Regions from separate parts of the Homo sapiens genome. Here regions 1, 2, 3 and 5 are each linked to region 4. The links are contacts of gene promoters, found by promoter capture Hi-C in human tissues and cell types (Jung and others, 2019). All regions are on one chromosome and are shown on one strand. Each heading gives the region's core, a stretch centred on a gene start or on the middle of the fragment in contact. The rest is flanking DNA. Distances are from core to core; before and after follow the strand shown.

Evidence for each region. Contacts are between HindIII fragments. The study calls those that stand out against the background at their distance.
Region 1: a fragment that was not itself captured here is called in contact with the fragment with the promoter of MAF in region 4 in 1 of the 25 tissues and cell types used here (hippocampus).
Region 2: a fragment that was not itself captured here is called in contact with the fragment with the promoter of MAF in region 4 in 2 of the 25 tissues and cell types used here (dorsolateral prefrontal cortex and mesendoderm cells).
Region 3: a contact is called between a fragment that was not itself captured here and the fragment with the promoter of MAF in region 4, in 1 of the 25 tissues and cell types used here (dorsolateral prefrontal cortex).
Region 5: a contact is called between a fragment that was not itself captured here and the fragment with the promoter of MAF in region 4, in 1 of the 25 tissues and cell types used here (aorta).

Annotation. Positions count from the first base shown.
Region 1 is chr16:78,453,839-78,457,671 of GRCh38, reverse strand. All of the region lies in intron 8 of WWOX (WW domain containing oxidoreductase), which reads right to left. Among named protein-coding and RNA genes, the nearest start is that of WWOX-AS2, 44 kb to the left of the region's middle. The HindIII fragment of the contact is 4,031 bases long and covers 1-3,372 here.
Region 2 is chr16:78,536,069-78,539,776 of GRCh38, reverse strand. The region is part of intron 8 of WWOX (WW domain containing oxidoreductase); the gene reads right to left. Among named protein-coding and RNA genes, the nearest start is that of WWOX-AS2, 38 kb to the right of the region's middle. The HindIII fragment of the contact is 5,244 bases long and covers 1-3,708 here.
Region 3 is chr16:78,436,081-78,439,891 of GRCh38, reverse strand. The region is part of intron 8 of WWOX (WW domain containing oxidoreductase); the gene reads right to left. Among named protein-coding and RNA genes, the nearest start is that of WWOX-AS2, 62 kb to the left of the region's middle. The HindIII fragment of the contact is 3,131 bases long and covers 903-3,811 here.
Region 4 is chr16:79,599,283-79,603,087 of GRCh38, reverse strand. MAF (MAF bZIP transcription factor) reads left to right here and starts at 2,351. Exons shown (of 2, transcript NM_005360.5): 1 at 2,351-3,805. The coding sequence starts at 3,186. It overlaps LOC101928230 (a long non-coding RNA gene), which reads right to left and starts at 2,201. Exons shown (of 3, transcript NR_188556.1): 1 at 2,099-2,201; 2 at 738-1,041. RefSeq lists an enhancer at 2,142-2,436. The HindIII fragment of the contact is 24,643 bases long and covers 1-3,805 here.
Region 5 is chr16:77,859,707-77,863,531 of GRCh38, reverse strand. VAT1L (vesicle amine transport 1 like) reads right to left here. Exons shown (of 9, transcript NM_020927.3): 4 at 642-784. Among named protein-coding and RNA genes, the nearest start is that of VAT1L, 73 kb to the right of the region's middle. The HindIII fragment of the contact is 6,734 bases long and covers 1-3,825 here.

The DNA.
Region 1 (3,833 bases), core at 108-2,607, 1.1 Mb after region 4:
AAAGTGCTGGGATTACAGGCATGAGCCACCGTACATGGCCAGTTCATGTTATTTTCATGTGCGTCCTCTGCAGCCCCCACAAATGTTGTAAATGCAGAGTCTTATAAAAACGGCTGTTAAGATTTCCCCAAATAAAGCTTAGCATTTGGGGAAAAAAAAGATTGGTGAATGAAAAAAAGAATCAACAGTTTTTCTATTTCCACCTACCAATTGGTGAAATTCACCTTCGCTTTCTCAGGACGTACGTGGAAGACACGAAGCAATACCTGGTTGGTGCAGCTCTCTATCTAAAGACCTGTACTTAGTCATTACTTTGAAGGAACCAAGAGAACAAGTAGCAAATCTGAACTGAATGAAAAGACTTCTTGCTGCTTTATTTAAAGTCGTGCAATGGAATATTTGCAGGAGAGCTTTTGCTACCTCTGGATAATCCTGTTCCAGAAGAACTGTTATCTGAGATCCCAGGAAGGTTCCTGAAAGGTCTATTAATGAAGACAACAGAAACAAAACAAAAAAGGGTGCAGACACAGACACGATCAGAGAGAATGTTACCATTCTGTCTGAACACTGCCAATTCCCTTAACGGCACAGAAGATTCAAATCGTAGGGTGGGCACATATTGTGTGACATTTCAACATCAAATTAACCATCCTGCCAGTAGCATCATTTAAGGCAGTGTTAGCAAAAATGCTGCCAGCCCACAAGGGGATGTGCATCTTCCCTCTTCAAACAATGCAAGTAACTCTTCATAAGGGTGATCAGCCAACGCCACGTGAACTAATTTGATAGTTCCATCATCTGATGCATTGCAAATTTCATTACATATTTTAAATCATGTTAACATGGTTTGTTAATGTTGGTATTCACTAAAAAGCCACAGCACTTTAAATAATGAATGGGCATGATAATTTTTACACATATTATGAAACTGAGACATGTGGATATTCTACCTTTTCTCTTCTTAGAATCTGTCTTACATCCTTTGTTAAGAGTCATCAACAAAAAATATATCAGGATGTTTCAGAAACACCACAGATTCAGAATTTTTAAATTTTTTTATAAAAATGAACTACATACCCATCAGAAGAAAAAAATACTTCAAATTATGTTAAAATATTGTTCTATATTAGCTCTATCAGGTATCCCTGGGACAAGAATTTAAGGCTATTGCTTAAGACAGCAAACCAAAAAGAGACAAAGTATTTTGTTAAGTGCTCAATCTTAAATATCAAATATTTTCTATTGCTTTGTTTATGCACACATGCATAAACAAAATTAAATTTTTTTTAACAAGTTTGTTTCCATTGCTACTTGTACAACATTAGGACTATTTTCTTCTCTTGCCTCTCAGCCCCCAACACTATTCACAGACACTCGTGACATTTCTAAGTGGTCAACTCTTCCAGCCTCTCTTTTGGTGTCTATGTTAAAAATGTGTCCCTCTTCCCAACTTACTGTGTTGCTGCTATAAAAACAACCTCTGAATCTCAGACACAACCTGGGGCCAACAGAGGCTGTGGGTGGCAGGGATTTAGAGCTTGGGCACTTCAGTCCGTTGCAAGGGGCTTGAATCCTCCTCCACCCCCTTTAGTTACATAGCCTTGTCCACGTCACTGATTCCCTCTAAGCTCCTTCGGTAGTAACAAAAGTAGAATCAGCATGAGAAATAGATAAGCTACATAGCACAGGTCCTGGCCTATAGCCACTGCCGGCCTATGCCAGCTCCCTTAAGTGCACAGGAGATTAAAATAATGTTAACACAAATACTAGTTAAAATAATGTAAAAATAAAAGTTAGTTTTTTAAATCTCATCATCACTGCTCACTTCCGTCATCATCAACTTTAACATGAGGTCCTTGGTGGCCTTTTTTTTTTTTTTAACCTTCACCTCCCCCAGGCATCATTACAAATTCATGTTCATTACTTGAACCTTTGCTATAATATTGAATTTGTCTTGATTTAAATTTTGAAATGTTATCATATTTTTTGCATCAATTTTGATTTTTTTTTTTTTTTTTTTTTTTTTTTGAGACAGAGTCTTGCTCTGTTAACCCAGGCTGGAGTGCAGTGGCATGATCTCAGCTTACTGCAGCCTCCTACTCCCAGGTTCAAGCAATTCTCGTGCCTCAGCATCCAGAGTAGCTGGGACTACAGGCACACACTACCACACACCCAGCTAATTTTTGTGTTTTTAGTAGAGATGGCATTTCACCATTTTGGCCAGGCTGGTCTCAAACTCCTGAACTCTGGTGATCCGTCCACCTTGGCCTCCCAAAATGCTGGAATCACAGGCATGAGCCACCACACCTAGCCTCGATTTTTTAAAATATTAGATTAGAATATCATTTATCTTCATTACTGAGGTTTTTAGCACCCCCATAACTTTGTCCATCGTCCTTGTCCCAGCCCAGCCACAGCTACAAAGAGAACCTAAAATTCTCTCGTTTGTGTCAACATGTTTGCCTCCGACACATCATTCAAGTCTCAGTAAAGACGTCATCTCTGTTCTGCAACTTTATCTGACTCCTCTTCTATCTATCCTCAAGACAGAAAAGCCACACATCCCAGTGCTGCTCATCTCACCTCCCTTTCACATTCTTCCCATCTCCATCCTTCTAAGGTAGGCACCCATAGAGCCAAGAGAACACCTTGCTCATTTTTGCATTTGCTATGCCTTAAGTCAGTACCTGACATGTGGGGCACTCAATGAACATTTATCAGAGGGGAGCACATCAAACAGTATTGGGGCAGTGACTGCCAAAGAACAGACTGTGATCTAGCGGGGTGGTGAAACCAATAGTGGGTGGTGAAAGCAACAGTTGGTATTGAAACTGGGTCATCATTGGCACATACACAAAAACAAAACAAAAAACACAGGTGGGCACGGTGGCTCAAGCCTGCAATCCCAGCACTTTGGGAGGCTGAGGAGGATGGATCACCTGACGTTGAGAGTTCGAGACCAGCCTGATCAACAACCTTGCTAAAAATACAAAAAAAAATTCCCCAGGTATGGTGGCGCATGCCTGTAATCCCAGCTACTCAAGAGGCTGAGGCAGGAGAATCGCTTGATCCTGGGAAGCGGAGCTTGGGGTCAGCAGAGATCGTGCCATTGCACTGCAGCCTGGGCAACAAAAGTGAAATTCTGTCTCAAAAACAAACAAAGAAACAAACAAACAAACAAAAACACAAAAACACAACCTAGGGGAAAAAAAACAGCAGGACACTGCTCAGATAAAAGTATCATTTTGTAAAACTTTTATTTCAGACAAATACACACACATGCATATAATACACACACACACACACACACACACGAATATACATAAGTATAAATGTATTGGGTTTTAACAGAAAAAACTTAGATAGTGGTCCAAAAAAGTTTGAGAGATGCTGTTTTAGAGCAACATAGAACATCTTGATCTGTCCATCAGAATTTGTCCTGCTACAGCCTACAGAAATCAAGGCTTCCAAAGTCATCCAAAACATTGAAAGTTTGGGAAACAATTAGATTAGGAGTATGCCCGGAGACCAATCCTCAAGAAACGAGAAACTCTAGAATACTGGAAGAGGCTTGCTGGGGAATTTCTTGGGTATTAGTTAATAAATAAATACTGATTTTTCATCAAATTAATGGCATATATTTCTCACTGAAATCACCCCATCACAAAAACTCAATGACAACAAAAACCAGGTGTGGTGAAATCCAGATCTGCCCAATCTACAAGTTGGACTTGGTAGAAATAATTGATGCAAAAGAAAACTCATGATACAAAAAGCTGTAAAACTTGGCATGTACAGAAAACAGATACATGAAATCTTCACTATAAAATAAA
Region 2 (3,708 bases), core at 1,151-3,650, 1.1 Mb after region 4:
AGATTATCTATTGCATCTCACCCCGACATTAGCATTACTAATTATGAGCTGCCTCTCTTTAGAGGGAAAACATGCTCTGGCAAGGTGCAGAAATTTCATTTCCCAGGCAGCCACTGCAAGTACAATTTGCACACACACATATGTGCCAATCTGTCCACACGTGGAAGAGAATCGGGAAATTCTTAAAAATGCATGTGTGCACTCTACAATGAAATATATGTGGACCTGAAGTCCTACTTCTGTCAACAAGAATTAACTAAATATTTTTTCACTTATTCTTTCTCCACTTTTTATCGATGCAGAATTGCTTACTGGAAGAGAAATGCACTCTTTAAAATTCTACTCTAACCTCTCCCCCTAAAATAATGCTGTATGTTTTCTAAGGCTACAACAATGGCTCCTATGACAAGAGCCCCTAGCAGGGAAACAGAGAGCTGGATATTTTTGCGAGTTATTTCAATTAATCCTCACAAGACTCCTTTACCAGTAGGACAAGGCTCACGCAGATTCCTGTGATTTTGTCTGTGCATCTAATTACTAACCTAACCACCATAGTTCAGTTGAACACATATTTATTGAGCAATTACTATGTGTCATGCACTGCAAAGTCTAGGGGAAAACCAAAATTCAATAAAACATCATTAAAGGCCTACAGACAGGCAGGCACAAGTTATCAGGGTTGCAAGTTCCTGAAATATTACGCAACACAAAATTGTGACTGCTGCCATGAGATGCTTCCATGTTCTCTGAATTGCTTCCTTACCAAGACTTCTTTCCCCATTCATCCCACAGCTGTGAAAGGGCATTGCTTGGTTTGCCGTCCAAAGCAGCTATTCCAGGTAATGGAAGAAATTGCAACAGAAGAAACATATAAACAAGGTAAGTTTTCAAATGCATCTCATAGGTACTATTCAGGACCAAATGAACAGAAATAAACAATCCTCCAATATCAGGTGACATATTTTATACATTTCCACCCATGCGTTTTAGGAAGGTAGCAGAAAGAAAATGCTCCTAAATCAGGGTTTTAAAATCAGATGCTGGTATTAGAAATAAGATTAACCTGGTCCCTTAACAATCAAATTTATTACTAGTAAAGGGTTATGAAAAATTCTATCTCGATGTCAAACATAGGAAACACAAAGTCTTTGGAGGCATATAATGATAAACTGCAGCTTGAGCAATTCTCTCAGAGAACAGAATGAGCAGTTCAGGAGTTCAGAGCATGCTCGTCTGGAAGGTGTTCAGTTAAAGAGGAGGGCAGGCTACAGACAAAGGCACGGAAAGGTCATCCATGGAGTCATTCCATCTTCATTACAGTGGGAAAGCCCGTGGCCGAAGTGCATACACCAGGCCTCAACTTGCACACCACGCAGAGGTTTAAGACTCATGGGGAAATTAAAATATTAAACAAACGTCAATGTATAGAGCGCTGGCAGCCGTGCCTAGATATTGCTATCTGAGCTTCCAGGTGCAACCCCAGACATCCAAAATAATGTGATATGAACATTCTCCAACCCCTTGCCCCGCTTTTTTTTTTTTTTTTTTTTTTTTTTTTGGTGTGAGTGATAGCTTAATTAAAGATTACAATCTATCTTCTTCAGAAGGCTAGAGAATGGACTGGCAATCACTAAATTTTCTTTCAGGTAACTGCCAAACTTAAATTTGTTCTTCCAAATAAAATAATTACCCCCTTCTGTGCCGCTCAAAATACCATGCTGGAAAAAAGACAGTGTTCATGATTTGCCCTATAATTCAACCCTCATCTTTTCCGTTTTCAAGAATCGGGGAAAGGTGAATTTCATTTACTGATTATCAGCAGGCCTCCTGAGAGATAGGCCGGGGCTGCTGTAAGGTGAAAAGCAGCTCTCACTGGCACCGCGGACAACCTTCCGGAGAAGGCCGAGGCCAGAGGCTTTTCCACTGCCGGGTGGCACCAACACGTGGGTGGATCGTTCTGGCCCTCCCAGCACACCCCTGATTACCTCCCTTTCAAATCCAGACAAAACCAGCTGCCAAATCCAGCTTCCTCATCACCCAAAAGGAAGCACTGGTCTACCCCTACATGAACTGTGGCAGCTGGGACCCTGGCTCTAACTCCAGCCCCCGAGACAGTTGTCACAACAACAACATCACAACCAAGCTCTTTCTTCGAGCCTATCTGTATGACTTTTCACAGATGAATTGGTTCCCAGTGGCAAACAATATGGTTTAGTATGTCAGCATGACCAATCGGATTATAAGACACAAGAGAAGAGGTAAATCATATGATAATGATGAAAACGATAAAACAATGAGAACTTTTAAAATTAAAAGGCAGTAGGTATCACATTAATGGGCTCAACATCTATAGTCAGTGAGAAAATCAGTTCCACCGCTTAGAAGACACGTGATTTAGGACAAGTTACATCTTCCTAACCCTTCATCTATCTACCTAGAAAATGCATATCATGTATCATTGGGTTATTTCAAAGATTAAGTCAGATAACAAACAGATGGAAGGAAGGCAGGGAGACAGGGAGGCAGGCAGACAACTCTAATACTTGAAATACTTGACTCTGGCTGGGTGTGGTGGGTCACCCCTGTAATCCCAGCACTTTGGGAGGCTGAGGCAGGCAGATCACCTGAGGTCAGGTGTTCAAGACCAGCCTGGACAACATGGCAAAACCCCGCCTCTACTAAAAATACAAATATTAGCTGAGTGTGGTGGTACATGCCTGTAGTCCCAGCTTCTCAGGACGTTGAGGCCTGATAATTGCTTGAACCTGAGAGGTGCACGTTGCAGTCAGTTGAGATTGTGCCACTGCAATCCAGTCTGGGTGACAGAGTGAGACTCTCTCTCTCAAAAAAGGAGGAAAAAAAAAAAAAAAAAAAAGACTTGGCTCTGCAACCAGCACATACTAAGTACTCAATAAACGACTTTCATTGTCCTTAAGCTGAGATCTATGATGAAGCTACACAGACATGGAAATTAAAAAAGAGAAATAATCCACATCAGCTAGAGGCAAGTCACCTTTTCCTCCTCCTCCTCCTTCGTCATCATTCTCCTCCATTTTCCCTTTTCATAGTCATGATCAGCATCAGAGACCACACTTTAGCTGGCTAAACCGGCACAATCCCATGCTCAGCTTTCTTTGCATGGGATTGCATTGATTCAATGTTGACACTTAATGGGGGAGGCTCAAACAGTACTGTCCTTGGCTACCATATACACTGGGATATGTAAGGGTGGTGCGAAGTTGCACCAAGAGAAAAACAATCAGCGGACTTCCCTCTTCACCTCCAGAGAGGACCTAAAGCAGAGAGAACCCAGCTCAGTGGGCAAGGCTGCATTCAGCCTGCCTTGTCGGCCAGTCCCTCACAGGACCCCGGGGCAGATTACATTATCTTGGATGCCCCACAGCTCGCAGCTTCTTTCTCATGGAACTGATCACACCCTTCAGGAGGGATACAGTCCTCATGCCTTCATTTAGCTGAGAAACTCAGACCCTCCAATCAACCTTTGGTTAAAATCTACATGACATTTACACTAAAAACTTCATTTTGGTGGGGGCAAAAGGGAGGAGAATGGCACCAAATTACACCCATGCATGTGTACTCTGGGGGTGGTTTATGTTGTGGTGCCTGTATCTTAAACCTAAGGATATAATAGGAGGGAACACTTAATGAATGCTTACTGTATACAAGGCCCCATGGCAAGCAATTTAT
Region 3 (3,811 bases), core at 1,219-3,718, 1.2 Mb after region 4:
CCTTCAGACCTTATCAAATAGGATGCAATGGCTGGCACCACAGAAGCCATCTTGTAAGCATGAGGGAAAAGTAAAGATTATCACAAAGGAGCTACTCATATAGTAGCCAAACACAACCCTTGCTGCCTCAGCAACTCTGGATACATGGGAAGCAAAACCTCTATTATTTCAGCCACCTTTAAGTGGGTGTTAATAACTTGCGGCCTAAAGCAGCTAAACTGATGTAGAAAATTAACCTCAGAAATGTCAAATGATTTCAAAATTATGTAACTAAAAGGGAGTAGAGGCTGCAGTTTGAATACAACCCTCATGATTCTAAATCCTTTGCCCTTTTCCAACTTACTTACATCCATTGGTCACTGGACTAAGCAAGCACTGTAAACTTAAAAGCTTTGGACATAATGACGTAAGACTACTAAAACCAATGGTAATGTTAATCCAGGGCAGGAAGAAGTATGTTTCTTCCTGCAAGAAGGTGGCCTCAGTGGTGTAAGAGGACAAGCCAGCTACCAGGTCCTTCTGTTGACAGACAACTGCAGGAAAGCGCCAGTGTGGTCCAACCACAGAGGGGTCCTGAGAGTCCAGTTTTCTAACATATCTGGACTGGCAAGAGAAAGGCAACCAGAAAATTCAAACCTCACTCAGGAGTCTCAAAATGTTTAGATTCATGAAGAATACAATGAAATTTCCACTTTGAAAACCATATTTCCCCCTCGCAACAGAAAGCCTGTTTTATACACCCTCTGCCTTGTATGTGATACACCAATGTACCAATACACATTCAAACAGGGGGCTTTGCCCTTGATAGTATCTATAGTGTAGTCAGCTGCAGGTATTTAAAGATGGAAAGGGGGAGAAGTATTTTTCTAAAATACTAATTTCAGGAACAAATCAACATCTATTATCTCCTTCATTACGTTTTAAATTGTACAACTATAAATCACCCTGCAGCGGGTTATTCAAGGGCAGAATTACCCCGTTTGGCTTTCACGAAGGTTAGAAGAATGACATCTTGTGCTTTTTCTAGTTATAATTTATAACTTTGCAACAGGACCAGCATTGCCGGCCCATCCATTAGCAGGGTAGCTGCACATCCGTTAAAACTCAGCACGATGACTGGCTTTACACGGGCACAGGAAACGTAACCCGATCGTCGCAGAAGTTCCATAAACGTAAGCCATTTTTTAATGTAAAATGATTTGAAAATGCAGTTCCCTAAAACATCTGCTAAGCTCTTGCTACCCTAACACATGATATTCTTTCTACTGTTATCTGCCAACACAAATATGTGGTTGCACAAAACACTCCTAAGAGGCAAGTGACAGTGCTCAACTTCAAATCTGCATACTGGTCCACAAAGGACCGGCTTGGACCTGGGAACTCTGGCAAGGATGTATTTACCAGAAATGAAAGCTTATGTGGAAAAAAAAAAGGTGGGGTTGGCGGTGGTGGCAGCATTCATTTCAGTGAAGGTGCTGTCAAACATTTTAAAAAGGAAGCATAACTGCATAACTAGATATGGATGCCAGGGGCATTACCGTGCATTGGACAAAGCAAATGCAGCTGCAATTAGCAAGTGAAAGTTTACAAGGCTGGTATATCATTTTCTTGAACACGCTGCATGAGGTTTCTGTGCTTTTCAATTACAAAATAAAGATAATAATTCTAAGATTGTAGAACTTGGAATTATTAATTCTAACAGAAATTATGAGAAATTAATGAAAATATATGCTGATACATAAAGCATCGTGGTATCTGGGAAAATGGTCAATCTGCATCTCTATTTGGAAGTGTGGTAGGATTCTAAAGTCATCACACATGGTTACAACTGCAAAAACCCAAGATTAGCCTTGAAAATCCCTTATGTGCACCAGATACAACACCTGGTTTTGTGAATTAAAACCCATAGACTAATATGTATATATAAATATAGATACTAAAATACAATACATTTTTTCACCAACTCGAAAGTTCTTACCAAACAATACACATTAATGCGTGCAGGTGCAAAACATTTTAGAGTAATTTAACTGCATAAAAGAATGCTCTAGAGTCAAGAAAATAAACATGTAATGCACGTATGATGTGACTTCATTATTAGAAAGTACTCAGCAAATGTTAGTTTCCTTTAACATATTTTAGAAGCAGCTATTTGAAGTATATTGCATCTTTTTTAGAACGACACTTAAAAATAACTCACTTTCCAAGTTTATCTGTGATTTTTATTTCACCATAAATTGAAGGGAGGAAGAAACAAACACTTCCCTCCCAGGACGCCCCAATACACTTGTCCAGTTCTCTGGATCTGAAGAAGAAGAGGGAGGCAGAGACATGGCTTTACCAGTAGGGGCCGCTGTGCTGAGAATTGATTCCTGTGAGTTTCTCATTAGTGATTATTATATTGCAGGCAGCCAAAATGGAAAAATTAATTAATTTCAAAGTGATAATGCATTTACAGCAACAATTAGAAATGTGTAACTGTAAAAGGGCAACATTTAAAAGACAGATCACATTTAATAAAGTTGCACAAGAACATCCAATTGTAAAATTACTGATCTGCAACAATATTCCTTAAAGAGGCACTTAAAATAGCCCGACTCCATGAAGAGTGACCTAATTACTGTAACTAAAATCACCGTAGTCACAGCAAGTCACAGCAAATAAAAAAGGGACGTTGATATTAGAATACTGCTGTTTAATACTTAAGGGAGCCAGCTACAGAGAAGAAATGAAGGCAGGGCTTCCGAGCGCAAGTCTGGGTTGTATTTCTTGCTCCCCTGACCTCATGCAACAGAATGTGTACTCCAGCAATACCCGTGTCAGAAGGAAGCACCCTCTCTAAGGTAAAAGGCAGACAAGGCAGAGCACACTAGCCATCTGGTGATAGGGACATTGCATCTATGCTAAGCTTCTCAATCACAATTAGAAACCCAGCCTTTACCTACGGAAGAAATGGGATGCAACTGCGTGGCTTATATCCAAAAATATGTCTGCATTCAAATAGCAGAAATGCACCCTTTGTCCAAGAAACTGATGCATTATCCTGACGGAAGCAATGCCGAGCCACATACGCAGGATAGCCCAAGAGGGTGACTTTTCCAGTCAGTCTGGTCTATCTTACTAGGAAAATGACCAACCCGAGGTCTACATTCACAGTGATTCCTCTCCTAAATACAGAGTCCTAAATGTTTATGAAAGAAAAGTGAATGCCTGTGAATTTGACAAGCAAGCTCAGAGCGCCAATTCCACCTCTGCATGAAGTGACGTATTACTTTCAATGGCAAAAACCTCAATAACTTCTGTATCAACCTAATATAGAGAACGCTGATGGCTAAAAAAGTACTACCAAACGCTTAAATATATAAATACACTAGAGAGGATTTTAGTAAGACTCTTAGCTACATATTCCACAGTCTTCGTCATCTTCATGCTTATCTAAAGTCCATTTGTGACATATAAAAGCTGCTATTTTCTAATCACTCAAGGTCAGAAACAAGAAAAGTCCACACCCTACGGCTTCCTCACAAATGAGACGTGCAGGTTGGAGATCACTGAACCAGGGTCCCTTCACCTGGACGCCCTTTCTACCTGGCCAGTAAACCTCTCCCTGAGTCTTTGGGGCCAGGGACAAAGCCCTTCTCTTCCCTTTCCAGACTCCCAATTTGCAGACTCTTGTTCTGTCAGCAGAGATTACATTTTGGAGAATCATCATCGGGACCAAGGCACTGCTCACAACGACAAGAGTAACAGCCATCGTGGCAGGAAGTACTGCATACCTCCCATGCGAAAGGCACTGAGCTAGGCATGTCAT
Region 4 (3,805 bases), core at 1,102-3,601:
AGTCACGATGAAAAGAAACACTACTTGTCTGAAAAATACCGACAGCGCTGCCCTTTTCAGATTAGGGTGTGCCTACGAATCTTTTGGGAAGTCTTCCATTAAGGATTCCTGGGTTTGCTGAAACTGAAGTCTACTAGGATCAGAGAAATTAACACAGGTCTAATATGGTGCAAGGAACGAGTGAGAGACACCTGAGGTTATAAATAGCAAAGCATGCTGCGGGGTGGGGAAGACCATTCTGAAGTGCAATGTTCAAGACGCTGGCTTAATATATGACTAAGTGTCAGAAGTCAGGTTTTCTGAGAATTACTTTCCAGATAAACAACTTTATAGCACTGCACTTAATCTTACTTACTAGAGACATCTCATTTATCACTGAATTACAAGTAACTTTAATCCTATTGATATTGCCATAAAGCCCGTTGAAAATCCATCCTGGCACTTTTAAAGGGTTTGGGGCCCTGTTACATGGGGATCCTCTTGCAAAGGTCTCAGCCAGAAATTACACCCCGAGGGTGTCTGTATCCCCTGGCCTCTTTGTCAACAATCAAGGAGAAGAGGAGGGGCAAAAATGATCTCTGCATCTGCCAGCACTTTCTTCGGCCCCTTTCCTATAGGGTCGGGTTCTCCCACTTCAGTCAAACTAACTTTGTGTGTCTCTTTCCTCCTCCCACACTGGGTAACCAGCTGCTTTTCACTTCATCGACAAAACTGGACACGGATCAATTTCAACTGACCTTTGCCGAAAGGTGGCGCTGTTGAGGTAAAAACCAACTCGCTCCAACAATAGTTTCCACTCTTCGATCCTTTTGCAGGCTTTTCAGAATTTTTTTTTTTTTTTAATGCACCCTCCTAGCGTCTCCCCCTTCTCATAAAGTAAAATAAATACGATTAAAAACACCAAATGCATTTCATTAATTGAAGGAATCAACAGTCCCAACTTCTAAGCAGACGGGCTGGTCTTCCAAAGGCTGGGTCGGTTTCAGGAGCTTTCTCTCCAAATAAATCTCTGCTTCTTCGACTTGCCTATCGCTTTAAAATCTTAGAAACAGAGTTAGTTGTTGGTTTCCTTCTTTTTTCTTTTTCTTTTTTATTTCTTTTTTGCATAAACTTTTAGAGAATCAATCTAGAAATTTGAACTACTTATTAGCATTTGCAACTGGGGGTGGGGGGAGCAGCCTCCCCCACCCCACCCCCCACTCTGCGTTTCCGGACTAGTTCCAGAAACCGCGGTTTAAAATTTAACCCTTCGAGGGTAGCTGGTGAGGGCTGGGGTATTGTTTTTCCCCCTTGCTCCCTGCCACGATCAAGTCCGAAATAATTAAAGGAAACGTAAAAGTGCAAAGGGCGCGCCTGACCCTGATAAACAGAGGTCAGATTTCGTAAGGGGACGGGTGAGTGTGAGTGTGTGTGTGTTTGTGTGTGTGTGTGTAAGAGAGAGAGAGAGCGAGCGCGCAATATGAGTCTCAAAGGCCAAACTCCGGCCAGTCAGGAGCCGGAAGGCTGAGCCCGGCTGACCTGACTTTGAGCTTCCCCGGAGTTATCTCGCATAGGCGCTCGCTCTGTCCAAGGGCACGCGACGCCAGCGGGCAGCCGGTCTCCGTGAAGAATGGCCTCTAAACAACTTATTTTACCTCGTTGTAAAGAGAGGGATAAAATGGGCTTTCCCTCTCCACGGATGCCCAGCCTTCTGGGCAGGCGCATGGCCGGGCGGCGCCCAGCCCGCAGCCCCGATCCGGACACCCCACTGCATCCCTCCCTTCCCGGTCCCTTCCCCGCACGGGCGCCCGAGAGACGGACAAAGAGTTGGGGCCAAGTTTGAGCGCCGGGCACGGCCAGGCTCAGGGAAGGAAGGTCCCCGGCAGACACCTGGGTACCAGAGTTGGTGCGAGGAGGAAAAGCTGGGAGGCGAATTCACAATCCTGGGGGTGGAGGGCAGGCAGGGGAGGGGAATCAGGCCAATCCCAGCCGAGTGAGCCCCCAGCGAGCTGGGGCTCCGGATGGGAGGCCTGTCTCGCGCTCCAAAGAAAAGCAAACCGCCCTCCCAGGTCCGCCCGGATTGCCGAAGCCCCTCTGGAAAAACTCCTTCCCCTCTTACACCAAACTTTGCGCCGGGCCTCGTTCCCTCCCGGGTAGGCAGCGGCGCAGGAAGGGTTAAGCCAGCCCGTCCCAGCTGACAGTCAGCTGATTGGGCCCTGATTGACAGCTCCGAAAAGTTTCCTTGTTTCTATACTATTATGCTAATCGCGGCCGCTCTCGCCGCCTCCCATTGGCCCGGAGTGCCAGTCAATTTCTCATTTGGACCTGACGTCACGAGTGCTATAAAACTCAGCAATTGCTTTAAACTCTTCTTGCTGGATCAGAGGCTTTAAAATCTTTTTTCATCTTCTAGCTGTAGCTCGGGCTGCTTGTCGGCTTGGCCTCCCCCTCCCCCCTTTGCTCTCTGCCTCGTCTTTCCCCAGGACTTCGCTATTTTGCTTTTTTAAAAAAAGGCAAGAAAGAACTAAACTCCCCCCTCCCTCTCCTCCAGTCGGGCTGCACCTCTGCCTTGCACTTTGCACAGAGGTAGAGAGCGCGCGAGGGAGAGAGAGGAAAGAAAAAAAATAATAAAGAGAGCCAAGCAGAAGAGGAGGCGAGAAGCATGAAGTGTTAACTCCCCCGTGCCAAGGCCCGCGCCGCCCGGACAGACGCCCGCCGCGCCTCCAGCCCCGAGCGGACGCCGCGCGCGCCCTGCCTGCAGCCCGGGCCGGCGAGGCGAGCCCTTCCTTATGCAAAGCGCGCAGCGGAGCGGCGAGCGGGGGACGCCGCGCACCGGGCCGGGCTCCTCCAGCTTCGCCGCCGCAGCCACCACCGCCGCCACCGCAGCTCGCGGAGGATCTTCCCGAGCCTGAAGCCGCCGGCTCGGCGCGCAAGGAGGCGAGCGAGCAAGGAGGGGCCGGGGCGAGCGAGGGAGCACATTGGCGTGAGCAGGGGGGAGGGAGGGCGGGCGCGGGGGGCGCGGGCAGGGCGGGGGGGTGTGTGTGTGAGCGCGCTCGGAGGTTTCGGGCCAGCCACCGCCGCGCAAGCTAGAAGCGCCCCAGCCCGGCAAGCTGGCTCACCCGCTGGCCACCCAGCACAGCCCGCTGGCCCCTCTCCTGCAGCCCATCTGGCGGAGCGGCGGCGGCGGCGGCGGCGGCGGCAGGAGAATGGCATCAGAACTGGCAATGAGCAACTCCGACCTGCCCACCAGTCCCCTGGCCATGGAATATGTTAATGACTTCGATCTGATGAAGTTTGAAGTGAAAAAGGAACCGGTGGAGACCGACCGCATCATCAGCCAGTGCGGCCGTCTCATCGCCGGGGGCTCGCTGTCCTCCACCCCCATGAGCACGCCGTGCAGCTCGGTGCCCCCTTCCCCCAGCTTCTCGGCGCCCAGCCCGGGCTCGGGCAGCGAGCAGAAGGCGCACCTGGAAGACTACTACTGGATGACCGGCTACCCGCAGCAGCTGAACCCCGAGGCGCTGGGCTTCAGCCCCGAGGACGCGGTCGAGGCGCTCATCAGCAACAGCCACCAGCTCCAGGGCGGCTTCGATGGCTACGCGCGCGGGGCGCAGCAGCTGGCCGCGGCGGCCGGGGCCGGTGCCGGCGCCTCCTTGGGCGGCAGCGGCGAGGAGATGGGCCCCGCCGCCGCCGTGGTGTCCGCCGTGATCGCCGCGGCCGCCGCGCAGAGCGGCGCGGGCCCGCACTACCACCACCACCACCACCACGCCGCCGGCCACCACCACCACCCGACGGCCGGCGCGCCCGGCGCCGCGGGCAGCGCGGC
Region 5 (3,825 bases), core at 346-2,845, 1.7 Mb after region 4:
CGGGCTCCGAAGTTGAAATGCCTGGCTTGACTCCAGGCTCCACCCTTTACTGCCAGTGCCAGGCCTTTCTGGGTGCACCCAATGACAAGGTTTCTCAGTTTGCTTTCAGTAAGGCGTAGCCAACGACCTGAGCAGTAGTGCTAGACTATGAGAAGGGTGTGTGTTCTTTCTGGGACTGGCCCATAAAACCTCCTATTCATGACCCTTTGGTGCTGTCTGCCCATCTGTTGGCTAGAAGCAAAGGACCTTTAGACCCAAGACAATAGTGGAACCATAAGATGAAAAGAGCCTGGGTCTCTGAATGCTCTTACAGAAGATCATCCACCAAATATCCACCTTAAGCTATCATGTGAATGAATGAGAAATAAACTTCCATGTGTTAAGATGGTCAAATAGGAGCTAGCGTAACTTTAATACATTAACTTTCCAAGTTAGCCGATTCGTTCCTTGGTGATAATAGTGAGGTTAAGAGGATTAAATGAACTAATGCGTGTGAAATATTTGGCACAGAGCTAATAATACTAAGCCCCCAATATATGTTTGCTACATATTATTATTATCCCTCTTTTAAATAAGTGCTACTGCTCTTTGAGAGCAGAGCAAGGGCCAGCCTGGTGCTTTTTCAAAAGCAAACATCTTACCTTTTAACTTCTTGCACGTAGTCTGCATTTCTGTCAAAGAGGTGGGTCACAGAGTCTTTGATTGCTTCATGCTTGAAAGTAGAGGCTGTTCCAAAGACAGTCACGTTGGGGACAGTGGAACACAGCTGAGCCACAGCTTGACCCTGGAAGGAAAAGACAATAGCTATGTCACACATAGGAGCCACCAGATCATAGCCAGTCTTGCTGGGTGTAGAGCAGGATTTCTCCATCGGCACTATTGACTTTTTTTTTTTTTTTTTTTTTTTTAGAGATGGAGTCTCACTCTGTCACTCAGGCTGGAGTGCAATGTGCAGTGGTGCGATCTCGGCTCACTGCAACCTCTACCTCCTGTGTTCTAGCGATTCTCCTGCCTCAGCCTCCCAAGTAGCTGGGACTACAGGCACATGCTGCCATGCCCGGTTAATTTTTTGTATTTTTCGTAGAGATGGGGTTTCACCGTGTTGCCCAGGCTGGTCTCGAACTCCTGAGCTCAGGTAATCCACCCGCCTCAGCCTCCTAAAGTGCTAGGATTACAGGCGCAAGCCACTGTGCCCGGGGGGCCTTTTTAAGGTTGGATTAGTCTTTGTGGTAGGAGACTGTACTATGCATTGTCAGATGTTTAGCCCTCCAGGCCTCTACCTACTACATGCCAGTAGCATCCTCCCAGTTGTGACAACCACAAATGTATCCAGACATTGCAAAGTGTCGCCTTGGTGGAAGGACAAAATGTCCTGTGGTTAAGAATCACTGGCATAGAGGAAAGTCAATGGGAATCAGGCGAATCCAAGCACCAAGACTTAAAAACTGATATCTTACAATGCCACCTACTTCACAGCGCTCTTGCAGATGTCTTAGTTTGGGTACCCCAGAAGCCGAACCTAAGATAACGATTTGGATGTAGGTATTTTACCTGGACAATGATCTCCGGAAATAACAAGGTATTAAGACAGTAAAAGAAGGCAGCCAATAAAAGATGTGTTATCAAGGCCATATCTACCATGTGTAACTGGAGCTCAATCCCTCTGGGGAACCCTGTGAGCAAGTGTAGAATACGCCTCTGAGTTATCCCAACCATGAGCAAGGAAGCCGGAGTATTTATCCAGCACATTTGCATCTGATACTTGTTGAGGGCTGCTTCTGCAATAGTAATTCTTGTGCCTATCTGGCTTCTTCCAGTCAAGTGGGCTCCCACAGCAGACAGAAGTCCTAAGCAACCTTCGGCATGTTAAGTGCAGAAAAGATAGGATGTGGCTGACAGCATCTTCTACAGGGAAGTGTAAATAAGGTATTTTGCAACACAGGTCAAAGACCTGGCACAAAATGTGACACTTAGATAATAAATCCTAATTACCTTTCCCCCTTAGGGGCTTATTATATCCATTGCCGAGATGTCCAGGCATATAGAGAAGAGGTCAACACAAGTTTTAAATATTAAGTGGTCCAGGGGAAATCACAAATGCAGTTAGGAGCAGGTTTATTTTTCCATATCGTTTTTCAGTATGGTCAAACTTGAAGTCATTGGACAAAATGTTGTGGTCATGTATATTCAGGCATTTTCCAGTAAAACCCAGTTTTCTGGTAACTAAGGTGCATTCTAAAGCCAAGTGTTGTCTCTTTCTGGTGTTCCATCTGCCATTTTAAGGAGGGAAAATATTCTACCAGCGTCATCTGTGATGTTAATTTCTGCCTATCATCTTATTTTCATGTCTTCATGCTGGCGGACTAAATCAGGTTGGCAGGTCAATTTATGGAAATGTCATCTTATCACCCGTTGCAATTAAAGGCAACACTGAGAGAATCACAGAATGTCAGAGTTGGAAGATCATCCAATTACCCCCTCCCCTGACTGCTCTATAGATAAAGGAAAAGACATTCAGAAAGGTTAAGGTTACCCACTTTTTCAGAGGCAAATCTGGGATTCAAAGTAAGGTCTCCTGGTTTCCACTTATTACCACTTTCCATTGTTATGCTGTCTACTTATTTTGACATTTTAAGCAAAGCAGGCTTTAAACTTCCTACCTAAAATAGACATGTTGCTGGCACACTCCCTTGGAGGTCAACATTTCAGAATATGGGCATGAACCTGAGACTCTGGACAGGCTATAGTTTTCTGTCCTAAGAATAGCATTGATACTTGTTTAATTCTCCTGCCTTCTAGATTTTATAAAGCAAAGAGAGGACTATCTTTTCTAGGGAGGGTAAATATCAGCAACCAATGCAGCAATTCTCTAAAATTTGCTGGCCTCAGATATGTCATAGTTATAGCTCCTTATGGACAGCGCTTGAGATAACCTTCTTACTACTGGGATGGGAAATTACAATTAGTTCCAGTCTCCCTGTATTCCCTTCGCCCTCTGTCCTTAGGCAAATAGGATATTCATTTATTCATTCAACTATTTTTCAAATTTCTATTCTGTACTGGTTGCACTGTGCTATGAATGCCAGAGTGTCCAAAATGATTGGCATGTGTTAATCTCCGGTCCCAAGCTGCCCACTGAGTCCTGGACTTGGGTCTCTATCGTTTTGGCATTTGTCTCCACCTGGCTGTCCCAAAAGCGACACATCACACTCAACTGATCCAAAACCTAACTCGTGGCCATCTCTGAATGAGTTACTCCCTAAGTCAGTTTCCTAGTGCTGCTGTAACAAAGTTCTACTGACCCAGTGGCTTAAACATCAGAAATTCCTTTTCTCACAGTTCTGGAGGCTCAAAGTCTAAAATCAAGGTGTTGGCAGGGTTGGTTCCTTCTGAGGGATGTGAGCGAAAGATCTATTCCAGGCCTTTCTCCTCGGCTTGTAGATGTGCCTATTCTCCCTGCGTCTCTCCACGCCGTCTTCTCTCTATGACACTCTGTGTCCGAATTTCCCCTTCTCATAAGGACACCAGCCATATTGGATGAGGGCCCACTCCAGTGACCTCAATTTAACTCGATTGCCTTTGTAAAGACCCTATCTCCAAATAAAGTGACGTTGTGAGGTACTGGGGGTTAGGGCTTCAACATATGAATTTGGAGTGGTGGGGGTGGGATGCAATTTAACACTCCTCTTACTGTGTTTCCTGCTTCAGTGGATGGACTGCACCATTCCCCAGCGTTAAAGCCAGGAATCTGGGCAGCATCCTGGCCTCCTCTTCCTCCCTCAACCCCACGTCCCTATATTCAGAAACTGTGTTATCTCTTTGTCC